Regions from separate parts of the Homo sapiens genome. Here region 2 is linked to region 1. The links are contacts of gene promoters, found by promoter capture Hi-C in blood cells and fetal thymus (Javierre and others, 2016). All regions are on one chromosome and are shown on one strand. The core of a region is centred on a gene start or on the middle of the fragment in contact, and the rest is flanking DNA. Distances in the headings are between cores, read along the strand shown.

What was found. Contacts are between HindIII fragments. The CHiCAGO score rates a contact against its expected background, and 5 or more counts as called.
Region 2: a contact is called between a fragment that was not itself captured here and the fragment with the promoter of TMEM116 in region 1, in 1 of 17 cell types (endothelial precursors). The highest score is 5.2, in endothelial precursors.

The regions. Positions count from the first base shown.
Region 1 is chr12:112,010,692-112,017,064 of GRCh38, forward strand. It overlaps TMEM116 (transmembrane protein 116), which reads right to left and starts at 2,474. Exons shown (of 11, transcript NM_001193531.2): 1 at 2,311-2,474. It overlaps ERP29 (endoplasmic reticulum protein 29), which reads left to right and starts at 2,735. Exons shown (of 3, transcript NM_006817.4): 1 at 2,735-2,918. The coding sequence starts at 2,775. RefSeq lists enhancers at 432-945, 1,450-2,338, 2,209-2,398, 4,069-4,208 and silencers at 2,559-2,638, 2,979-3,068. The HindIII fragment of the contact is 12,495 bases long and covers 1-3,454 here.
Region 2 is chr12:112,348,407-112,354,779 of GRCh38, forward strand. All of the region lies in intron 1 of HECTD4 (HECT domain E3 ubiquitin protein ligase 4), which reads right to left. Among named protein-coding and RNA genes, the nearest start is that of HECTD4, 31 kb to the right of the region's middle. The HindIII fragment of the contact is 520 bases long and covers 2,316-2,835 here.

The DNA of each region.
Region 1 (6,373 bases), core at 1,224-3,723:
TGTTCCATCATCTCCAACTATCAGCAGAGAGGGTAGCTCCTCTCTTAGGCTTGTTGACCCATAGGTCTCTGCCCTCTTGGTCCTCTGGCAGTCCTCTGCCCTACTCTGGCTGAACCCAGGGTTTTTATGGACCTCCGAGGGGAGGAAGTACATGCCGATTGGTCCATGGGCAGGCCAGAAGATGCACCACGAGTCCCTACTCCAGTCTGCAGGACTGGCAGCCTGGACCCCTGTCTTCAGGCCCTCCCTGACCTGAAGGTGGGGTCTTACTGGGGACTCACCCACTTCTACCCTGGAATCAATCTGCCTCCCATTGCCATTCTTGGCCCCAAGCCCGCTCTGAGATTGGAGCAGGCCCCGGGAGTAGAGAGAGTCCAGGCGGTGGGAACAGACACTCCTGAGCCTGCAGGGATTGCAGTAGGGTGTCTTGCTGGTCCCCCAAGGGTGCAGGCTGCAGAGATGCCCAGGTCCTGCACCTGGGAGGGCAGCCACAATGGCACCAGGGGCTCCTGCCTCAACTCAGAAGGGGCGGGGCTCCCACAGGCTCCATGGAGTGTGCAGCCCCAGTCACACCTCCCTGCTGCAGCTGGCTGCCATCAATAGGGCAAACTCAAAATTTTTCTTAACTTCCCCAGACACATTCACACATACACACACACAAACACACACACACTTTCTTTCAAAATTTATATCCAATCAAACTGGTTGTCCATGATTGGATCCTGTTATCACTGTTGACTATTTATACACATACATTTTGGAAACATACAATGGTTAATTATAGCAGTAAGTCCCTTACAATGCATTGTATATGTTCTCTTACATGCATTTGTTCATCAAATCTTGTGAATTCTACCCTTTAAAAGTTTGTCAATTCCATCCATACTTCTTCAGCCCTATTATGTCCTACTGCATGACCTTAACCTCTTCCAACTAGACTATTGCCATACCCCATTAATTGGCTTTAGTCCCGTCTTCTCAATTCCAATCCATTTCCTTCATTCCTGAGTAATGTTGTTTTTGTTTTGAGACAGTCTTCTCTGTTGCCCAGACTGGAGTGCAGTGGCAGCAATCAGGGCTGACTGCAGCCTCGACCCCTCAGGTCCAAGTGATCCTGCTGCCTCAGCCTCCCAAGTACCTGGGACCACAGGCATGCACTACCACACATGGCTAATTTTTCTACTTATTGTAGAGACGAGGTTTCATTACGTTGCCCAGGCTGACCTGGGTGCTGTTTCTACACACAAATCTAACCTCACTCTCCTAGTTAAAACTTCTGGTGACTCCAAACCCTTTAGCTTGGTGAGACCCTTTCGAATCCGCCCCATGGAAGCTCAGTAATAATCAATCAAAATAAAAAAGAGCGGCAGCAGCTGTTGCGCCAGTTCGCCTTTACATAGATTCATCTCAACCAGTTCCCCAACATGCCTGTGCATAATTTTCCCATTGTTAGAAATGCCCTGTTTCTCTTTGCCTCATGCACGCCCCCTCTTATTTCAAGGTCCAGCTCAAAAGTCACCTCCTGTCTACAACTTCCTCTGATGCTCCTGAGCAGGGATGGCTGAATCTCTGTCTCTTTACAATAAGAAAATACGGTCTTTTTTTTTCTTTTTGAGACTGAGTCTCGCTCTGTCACCTAGGCTGAAGTGCAATGGCGAAATCTCGGCTCACCCCAACTTCCGCCTCCTGGGTTCATGCAATTCTCCTGCCTCAGCCTCTTGAGTAGCTGGGATTACAGGCACGCACCACCACACTCGCCTGATTTTTAGTAGAAACGGGGTTTCACCATGTTGGCCAGGCTGGTCTCGAACTCCTGACCTCAGGTAATCCACCTGCCTCGGCCTCCCAAAGTGCTGGGATTACAGACGTGAGTCAACGCGCCCAGCCGGAATAATATTTTACAGCAATTACACTGCACTGTTTAGATCATTATTCCTATGCCGCCTCCTCCCCCAACAAAGTGCGTGCCTTCAGCACACAACGGTCTTGTTTCTGCTTATTCCGTAGCCCCGCAGGCAAAGCCAGAGTCTGGCACAAGCCAGGGACCGAGTGACTACCTGCGGAACAGAATGATTAGAATTGCGTCTGGGGTTCCTGGAGGGTGGGCCTTGGCTGGGCGGATCCCAGGAGCCTGGCGTCTCCCAGGGGAGGCGCTCACCTCAGATCGGGCCTAAGAGGGCCCTGCTTGCCACACTGACCGCCAAGCCTGGCCAAAAAGCTCAGGGAAGCCGCGGAGCCACTGCCCGCCTGGGTCAGGGTGGTGACGGAGCCTGACTGAGAATAACGGCTGAACTTGACTAATAGACTGACCGAGGGTTGGAGCGGGTCCCAACCAACTGCCTGACGGCCCAAAGGCAGGAAGAAACGATGGTAGGCCTTGTCATCTTCGAAGGAGAGGAAGGACAGCAAACGAATTGCTATAGCGTCCCCATGCGCACTTGGCGCTTCTCCTCAAGCGGAGCAGGAACGGAACTGGGCGGACCCGCCGGAAGACTCGGCGAGTGCGCGCGCGCAGGAGCCCATTTTCCCGCCCGCAACGTGGCCCCGCCCTTTTACCCAGGCCCTACGCGAGCTTCGCCGAGTACGCGTGCGCAGCAGCTTCCCCTCCCTCGCCCCGCCCCTCACGTGGCCCCACCCTCTCACCCTAGACAGATGGGAGCCTCCTGGGGTGTCCACGTGAGCGCGCGTGAGTCCGCCCCCCCAGTCACGTGACCGCTGACTCGGGGCGTTCTCCACTATCGCTTACCTACCTCCCTCTGCAGGAACCCGGCGATATGGCTGCCGCTGTGCCCCGCGCCGCATTTCTCTCCCCGCTGCTTCCCCTTCTCCTGGGCTTCCTGCTCCTCTCCGCTCCGCATGGCGGCAGCGGCCTGCACACCAAGGGCGCCCTTCCCCTGGATACGGTCACTTTCTACAAGGTAACCGGGGCGGGGGACGTCGCGCGCAGGTGCCGCCGGGGCGCCCGGAAGAGCGCGCGCCCGTGGGGAGACGCTGGATTCCGGGAGCTGACGGGAGGTGGTCTGTAGCAACGGTCCCAGAGCTTCCCGGCGTCCTACAGGCCTAGTGGACTCTGAGCGGAGAATGTTATGACCACCGGGCATGCACGCTTCAGGGCCCCGGCGCACCCTTGCTTTTGCAGCATTTATACTTGCATCCACCCTTGCAAAGATGCAGCCGAGGGAACTGGGTGCCCCTTCCCTTCACCTGTGGGGAGAGGGCGGTGCCTGGCGAGATCCAACCCTCGAGTCCCAAGTGGGAGAACCGGAGGGCGGTGCGAGGTCGACGCCACCGGGCTCCCGGCTGTGGAAGCTGGGAGGGGTTGGCGGGGGGAAATGCAGGCGCGTTAGCCTGCGTGTCCGCGCCCCTCTTCCCAGGGTTGGATTGCAGCCTGCTTTGCAGTGTGCAAACAATGATCAGATATCATACATCTTGAATAGTGCAAGCGTGAAGAATAAGCTTCAGTTCAGCCACCCTGTAAAGCAGGGGTCCCCAACCACCAGGCCCGTCGGTGGCCTGTTAGAAACCGGGCCGCACAGCAGGAGGTGAGCGGCAGGCGAGCTAGCACTACAGCCTGAGCTCCGCCTCCTGTTACATCAGCTGCGGCATTACATTCTCATAGGAGCACGACCTTTATTGTGAACTACGCATGTGAGGGATCCAGGTTGTGTGCTTCTTATCAGAATCTAATGCCTGATGATCTGAGGCGAAACAGGTTCATGTCGAAACCACCCAACCCCGTGGAAAAGTTGTCTTCCATGAAACCAGTTCTTGGTGCCAAAAAGGTTGGGGATAGCTGTTGTAGGAAACATCTTGGGGTTGGCAACAAAATCAGTAAAATTGGGTCAAGGCATGGAAGAATTTGCCACTACCTCCGCCTTTCCCCCCTTCCATTTTTGCAGAATTAGGGATCCTGGCCTGAGTAAATGGACGGTTGGAAATGGTGGCTGAATGCAACACCGCAGTCCCAGTCCCCTCCTCTTGCACCTGTCTTCACCCACGAGCAGCTTTTAACTTCCTCTAGGAGATGGGCAAGCTTAGTGTTGCGAGAGAGCCAGTCATTTCATTTTCAGGTTTTGTACTCATTGTGGGGAAGTGAAACCAAGAAGTAGTTGTCTCCAGTGGTTGAAGTCTCCTATTTTCAAGCGTTCCCTGTCGTGGATTTGGCACTTGCAGCTCATTCAAGGCAAAGTTTCAAGAATTTAAAAGTGTAGGCCGGGCTTAGTGGCTCACGCCTGTAATCCCAGCACTTTGGGAGGCTGAGGCGGGTAGATCACCTGAGGTCAGGAGTTTGAGACCAGCCTGACCAACAAGGTGAAACCCCGTCCCTACTAAAAATACAAAAATTAGCTGGGCGTGGTGGTGGACACCTGTAGTCCCAGCTCCTCGGGAGGCTTAGACAGGAGAATTGCTTGAACCCAGGAGGCGGAGGTTGCGGTGAGCCAAGATCACGCCACTGCACTCCAGCCTGGGCGACAGAGCAAATACTCCGTCTCAAAAAAAAAAAAAAAAGTGTGGGCTGGGTGCGGTGGCTCATGCTTGTAATCCCGGCACTTTGGGAGGCTGAGGCAGGTAGATCACCTGAGGTCAGGAGTTGGAGACCAGCCTGGCCAACATGGTGAAACCCTGTCTCTACTAAAAATACAAAAATTAGCTGGGCGTGGTGGCGGGTGCCTGTAATCCCAGCTACTCGGGAGGCTGAGGCAGGAGAATTGCTTGAACCTGGGAGGTGGAGGTTGCAGTAAGCCGTCATCATGCCATGACACTCCAGCCTGGGCAACAAGAGCAAAACTCTGTCTCAAAAAAAAAAAAAATGGTGTAGGTGTGGCTGATTGGTTGTCAGGCATGCTCAGACACACCCTACAGCACCCTATGCTTTGGGGGCCTTTACTGGCAAAATGACACCCCTACCCCACCCTGCTCCATGGGAATCAGATAATATCACAGAACAAGTGTGACCCAAAGGGAAACTTTGCGCCATAAAGCTAACAGTGTTTTCTACTATTACCACCCTAGTCTAGGTCAACATTACAATAGCCTCTTCTCTGGTCTCCCTGCTTCCACTCTTGAGTCTCCACACAGTAGCCTAAGTTCTATATGACCTGACTCCTGGCTTCCCTCTCATCTCCCAACCATTCTCCTACTGTCTTTTGAATATTCCTTGCTCTTTACTGCCTTAGGATATGTTGCACTAGTTGTTCCTTGTGACTGGAATATTCTCTGCCCAAACTTTGAAAGGCTAGTTAGTTACTTCTCATCATTCGGGCTTAGGTTAAGTGTTTCCTCCTTAGAGTTCTTCCTTGATTTATCTTCCCCCCAGTCTAAAGTGCCAGTCACATTAATCTGTTTTATTTCTCCATACAGCACTCATCACTGATTTTTTAAAAATCTATTTTGCCATCTTTCTCTCTCACTGGAATATTATGTGCTCATGAAGAAGCTCCTTGTCTATTTTGTTCCTGATCGTCTGCGCTGCATAACAGATTACCTGTCTCATAGAAGGTGCACAATAACTATTTTGTTGCGTGAATGAACAAACGTTTTCTCCAGTCTCTTTTCAAATCTTCTCTTCCATCACGACTGAACCAAAAGGAAATGTACTAGTGTTCTGTCTGGCAGCCTTGTTCCATGCTTTGCCTTTCAGTGATTTCCAGTATCTTTTTTGTTGTTGTTTCTTTCCCTTCACCATCACTAGAATGTTAGTTTCATGAGCTAAGAGATGCCATTTTGTTCCCTGCTGTGTTCACTTAGTATGGTGCCTGGCAGGCCTTTAGTAACTTTTTACTCAATGAACGAATGAATGAATAATGAACTTATCTATACTTTAAAGAAGTGAGTTGCCTGATTATAGGTAATGGTAGAGCTGATTCCCACTAGCCCATTGGACACCAAGGGCTGGTAGGAAGTAGATGAGGAAAATAGACTTCTAAAGCTATCATTAAGAGATAACAGACCACTTCGGGAGGCCGAGGCAGGTGGATCACAAGTTCAGGAGATCGAGGTCATCCTGGCTAACACGGTGAAACCCTGTCTCTACTAAAAATACAAAAAAATTAGCCGGACGTGGTGGCGGGCACCTGTAGTCCCAGCTACTTGGGAGGCTGAGGCAGGAGAATGGCGTGAACACGGGAGGCGGAGCTGCAGAGAGCTGAGATGGCACCACTGCACTCCAGCCCGGGCAACAGAGCGAGACCCTGCCTCAAAAAAAAAATAAAAAATAACAGACTAAGATAACAAGAGAAAATTCTTTATGCAAATGTTTGCCATTCAAAACCATTCTGCCTTACCCTTGAAACTAAGAATGGTGAAAGTAGAAGGTGGAGATCTCTGAATTCTATTTTAATGTTAGACCACTGTATAATTATTAATATTATTC
Region 2 (6,373 bases), core at 1,326-3,825, 340 kb after region 1:
CTATAGATGGAAAACTTAAAACTTATATTCACTAAAATATTATGTGGAGCATAATCCTATTTTTATAAAAAATGTGGGCCGGGAGATCATGCCTGTAATCCCAGCACTTTAGAGGTCGAGGCAGATGAATCGCTTGAGGCCAAGAATTTGAGACCAGCCTAGCAACATAGCTAGACCCTGTCTCTATAAAAAAAAATTAAAAGATGAGCTGGACACAGTGGTGTGTGCGTATAGTCCCACCTCCTTGGGATTGCTTGAGCACAGGTATTCGAAGTTGCAGTGAGCTATGATCACACCACCGCAGTCTAGCTAGCTTGAGCAACAAAGTGAAACCCCCTATCTTTTGGGGAAAAAAAAGTGTATATTAGCAAGAAATGAAAAAATATATAAATAAATAAAAGTGCATGCATAGGTTTTATATATAAACCTATGTATGTATATATACTAAGCATTTATATATCTAGAGAGAGGAAGAGGAGGAGCAGGTTCAAAATCTTAACAGAGGAATTATGGTTGATTTTCATCTTCTTTTTTTGTTATCTTTATTTTCCAAGTTGTTTACAATAAACACAAATTGCCTTTGAATGAGGAGGAGGGATATGATATCCTGGTAAAATACTTAAAATATAACATTAGGTGAATAAACAGGCTACAAAACAAAAATAAAATATTTTTACTACTTTTAGAAATATTATGCATAAAGAGGCCAGGTGCGGTGGCTCACGCCTGTAATCCCAGTTTGGGAGGCCAAGGCGGGTGGATCATGAGGTCAGGAGTTCGAGACCAGCCTAGCCAATATGGTGAAACCCCATCTGTACTAAAAATACAAAAACTTAGCCGGGTGTGGTAACACATGCCTATAGTCCCAGCTACTGGGGAGGCTGAGGCAGAAGAATCGCTTGAACCCAGGAGGCAGAGGTTGAGTGAGCCGAGATCGCACCACTGCACTCCAGCCTGGGCGACAGAGCAAGACTCTTGCTCCAAAAAAAAAAAAAAAAAAAAAAAGAAAGAAAAAGAAAAGAAACATTATGCATAAAGAAACCTAGAAGAAAATACGGCCAAATCAACATTTAAAAATTTTGTTGCATGTTATTTCCTTATCAAGTTACTTTCCAGTGAAGAGTCTAATTGGCAAAGATAAGGCATGCTCCTGGGGAAGAAGTCAGATGAAAACATCTAGTTTTGCTTCCCTCTTGTTATATGAATCTCAATCTCATGCTGAGAACAGATGGCAAAAAAAAAAATTGGCACAGAATGCAACTACGGCAGTACAAATATGGTGGTCAGCAGGAAATACATTATTCTTAATTTCAACCTTTTCCTGGAAACAGTGCCTGGAGTGTTATGGAGTAAAAATGGGTGAACAGGTGTAGGAGGATTTTATTTTTGGCAAGGGCTGAAAGCAAAGGAGAAAAATTAGTTTGATTTAAGGAGCCTACTTAATTCTAGAAAAGAAATAAAACAGACTGGGAACACATTGAATAATTTTATATTTCTGTAAATGTTCATATTTTTTGGAAAGGCTATCAATAATATGATATTTTTCTTTTTCTTTTTCTTTTTTTTGAGACAGGGCCTCATTCTGTTGCCCAGGTTGGAGTGCAGTGGCACAAACACAGCTCACTGCAGCCCCAAACTCCTGGACTCAAGTGATTTTCCTGCCTCAGCCTCCCATGTAGCTGGTCCCACAGGCGCGCACCACCATGCCTGGCTAATTAATTTATTTTATTGTTGAGACAGGTTCTTGCCATGTTGCCTAGGCTGAACTCCTGGGCTCAAGTCATCTCGTGCCTTGGCCTCCCAAAGTGCTGGAATTACAGGCATGAGCCACCACACCCAGCCATACGATACTTTTTATTTGGATACCAAATGTCTTCTTAGAACTCTAAACTCAAAATAAACGTGCCATTCTCATGATATGCTAAAAGGAGGTAATAATCATTTCTGGGGAAACAGTATGTGTTATCAGAAATAATATTATTTTGTATAACTTCTCTTGCTTTGGCTTCATTGATTTTAGAGCAGCATCGTCATGTTCTCATAAGCTTTTAAGTATTCTACCCAAGAATCTGCTTCTGAGAGGTTTAAAGTACCCATGTTGTTTTTCTTTATTAAGGATATGTACTAACGCTACACATGAAGCCAATGAAGTCAAACAGGCCCTCCCCAATCTGTCAGTATATTTTTATCTAACAAGTTTTAGTGTTCTTGGATGAATTCATTTTTCTAATCTTCAAAGAATCAAATATCTTTATAGTGTCCCTCAAGTGAGTAAGACTTTATTTCATCATAAGAAAAAATAATACAATTTTAAAAGCTTAAGGTTGCCAGCAAGACACACCCTCAATGTTCATTCTCCACATACAGCTTGCTCTGATTTATGGTGCCAGTACTTTTGGCCACACAATTCACTACACTTTGTTCTCCTGGTTACTGGTGTCAGTGACAGGGCTAGGTCAACTCTTTGGCTAATGTGGCTAGCTCAGTAGATTAGAACCAAATGCAAGTATGGCTCAATTTAAATTAAGGGCCCATTAGTCTCCCTAAAAAAGAGCTTAATTCCATGTCAGAAATCTACTGGAGTGTGAATGGCAGCATACATCATCACTTTCATTCAAAATGTGTGGTCAGCTTGGTCACTGGCCACCTCGTTTCATATTCTACAGAGGAAGACATGTTTGGTTTGGGTAAGGGTTTATTTCCCATGTCTTGCAGATCTGAAGATCTGTACCTAGCTTTCTGTGTAGGTATATCAAATAGCCAGTCCCTGCACTCCCCTCCTGACTTGCTTTATCAATGTTTTCAAAGAATTCAAATCTCTTGCTTCCAAATAGAAGCTTACTGTAAGATGAGCAGTCCCTGTGCACAAAGGAGACAAGGAGACCAGCCTCATGATCGCGTCAGAAGTGGTGGTTTGGCACTATCATCTCTAACCAAATGTGCAGGGCAGGGCAGGTTTGCATCTGCCAGGACACAGATAAGGGAGTATGGCTGGGCTTCCTTCTCCTATCTCAAAATATGGCTCATAACAGCATGGAGATCTTCTCTAGGTAACCAATTTAAATAATCTTTTAATAGTAGAAAACCAGGCCAGTGGTTTAGGAAACAAGTCTGTTTAAGCAAGTATTCCAACAAAGACAAATCTATAAATTTCCAGGTCTGTCTATAAACTATTCATAGTGGCTAAATAAATATCATGCTTTAATAAATACAAATTTCTAGGCAAGGGGTAAAAGTGAAAGGTGTTAATTTAGTGTGTTTAGTTGTCTTCTTGCATTAAAGCTACAGATAAATCATGGAAGATCATAAATGACTATTTTTACTTTTTTTATGCTACACTGACTGACATAAAGATTTTACTACCAAGGATGGCATAAGTACCTACGTAGTAACATAGCCTAATAGATAAAATTACTGTCGGCATGTTTAAAAGGCAAAAATTCTAACCCAAAGTATCTCAGTCATCTCAGTCACTAATCTTTCTGTTATTCAGTTTCTTAATCTTTAAAACAAAGACAGAATGAATATGGCCTACCATTTCCCTTCACTTTCCTATTTTGGTGTTTTCATTCAATTTAACAGATATTCAGCAAAACTACCACACTATGGGTAGTGAGAAGGCTGAGGAGCTCTCATATAAATGCATATGCAGTTATAGGGAAACTAATAACTTTTCCTATTAAGAAGCTTTTGCTTTTTAATTTTTTAAATTTTTTTGAGACAGGGTATGCTCTTGCACATAAGAACGTTTCAATTAGATGAAGAAAATACCTATGGTGGCGAGGAGGGGACATCAGAAGAATATGAGTTAGGGTAGCTGTTCTCAACCCTGGCTGAATATTAGAATTGCTTTGAGAGCTTTTAAACGAGACTAATGAGTTGGTCTCATCCCAGTCTGGTTACCTTAGAATATCTGTGGATGGAGCATCTTTTTTTTTTTTTTTTTGAGACAGAGTCTTGCTCTTGTTGCCCAGGCTGGAGTGCTGCAGCACAATCTCGGCTCATTGCAACCTCCGCCTCCTGGGCTCAAGCGATTCTCCTGCCTCAGCCTCCCGGGTAGCTGGGATTACAGGTGCCTGCCACTACGCCCAGCTAATTTTTATATTTTTAGTAGAGACAGGGTTTTACCATGTTGGCCAGGCTGGTCTCGAACTCCTGACCTCAGGTGATCTGCCCACCTCAGCCTCCCAAAGACATCATTTTTTTCCCTTCTTTTTTGAGACAAGGTCTTGCTGTGTTGCCCAGGCTGAAGTACGGTGGTGCCATCACAGCTCACTGCAGCCTCAACCTCCTGGGCTCAAGCAATCCTCCCACCTCAGCCTCCCAAGTAGCTAAGACCACATGTATATGCCAAAATGCCCAGCTAGTTTTTTGATTTTTTGTAGAGACAGAGTCTCGCTATGTTGCCAGGGCTGGTCTCGAACTCCAGGGCTCAAGTTATGCTCTTGCCTCAGCCTCCCAAAGTGCTGGGGTTGCAGGCATGAGACACCACAACCAGCCCAACATAAGTGTTTTAAAATAAGACAACCATCATTCTGGCTTGTGATGAGACCTTGTCTGTAATGAAGAAAACTTCAGAATTCCTATAAGTCAGTTGCCAAAAGGCTAGAAGCATCATTGATTTCCTGTTAGCAAACATCCATAACAAAGACTAAGTCCTTGCTTTACCCCAGACCAAAACAGAACATCAACTCTATGGAAACCAGCAGAAGAATTTCATAAGAACCAAGGAGCTGACTGACAGCCACCTGACTGGCAGCCACCATTACCAGGTTAAAACTATGTCTGATGATGTTTCTTGACAGCTCTGCGTTCCAAGAATGAGCACATGGCTTCATTACAATCAAGGGGCAACTTAAAGAACAGGTGAGGGATTCTTTCTAAGTATCTTTCTAGGCTAATGGATATTTTATCAAACCTGTCTTATTTCCCTAAATTCTAAACATGCTACTGAGAGAAAAGGCTCTAAAATTATTAACCCATGTACAGACTATTTTGTTTTTGTCATTTCTCTTATAGAAGAACATATATTACTAAAAAAAGTCAGCTTCGTATTGTCTTTTATATTTTGTAAAATGTGGCTCTTTCCTGAGTTTCAACAATGACTGGTTGAATAGAGATGAGTCATTTTAAGAAACTACAGGCGGGGTGTGGTGGCTCATGCCTGTAATCCCAGACTTTGGGAGAACAAGGAGGGTGGATCACAAGGTCAGGAGTTCGATACCAGTCTGGCCAATATGGTAAAACCCCATCTCTACTAAAAATACAAAATTAGCTGGGTGTGGTGGGAAACTACAACCAGATCCTTTCATGCATCAAAGAAAAACCCAAAATAAGTTCTAAACTTCAGCTTTAAAAAGTTAGGCTAGAAGAATCATTTCCTGTCCTCATAGAATCCACTTGCTTGCTGAAAATATTATAGAAATAGAACTTTATTAATGTGAAGGGTAATTTTAATCTCATCAGTTAACATTTGCCAAAATGGAATATGTGCTCGACAGGATTAATAATAGTGGTTTTTAGCCAGCACAGTGGTGCATGCCTGTTGCCCAGCTACTCAGGAGGCAGATGTAGGACAGTCACTTGAGCCCAGGAGTTCAAAGCCAGTCTGGGTAACACAGCAAGAACCTACCTCTAAGAATAATAATAATAATAGATTTTTATTTTTTATTTTGATTTTTTTTGAGATAGGGTCTCGCTCTGTTGTCTAGGCTGGAGTGCAGTGGCGTGAACACAGCTCACCGCAGCCACGACCTACCAGGCTCAAGCAATCCTCCCACCTCAGCCTCTTGAGTAGGCACGTACTACCGTGACCAGCTAATTTTTTAATTTTTTGTAAAAGCAGGATCTCGCCATGTTGCCAAGACTGGTCTTGACCTCCTAGGCTCAAGCATCCTCCTGCCTAGGGCTCCCAAAGTGCTGGGATTACAGGTGTGACCTATCACCCAATAGTGTCTTTTTTTAATCCATTGGTTTGAAATTCTTCACCCTGCCTCCTAAAAGAGACAGAAAGAGGGAAAAACCTGGGTATGTTATTCATAATGCTTCTATTAAAACCAAGGAGCAGCCAGTAGTTTGAGACTAGTCTGAGCAAACATGGTGAAACCTCGTCTCTACAGAAGATATAAAATTAGCTGGGTGTGGTTGTACACACCTGTAGTCCCAGCTGCTTGAGAGGCTGAGGGAGGAGGATTGCATGAGCCCAGGAGGCAGACATTGCAGTGGGCCAAGATTGCGCCATTGCACACCAGCTTGGGCAACAGAGCAGACTGTCTCAACAAAACAAAACAACAACACACACACACACACGCACGCACAAACACACATACACACAGCAACACTTCAAATCTCAAATTATTTTGGGTCACCACCA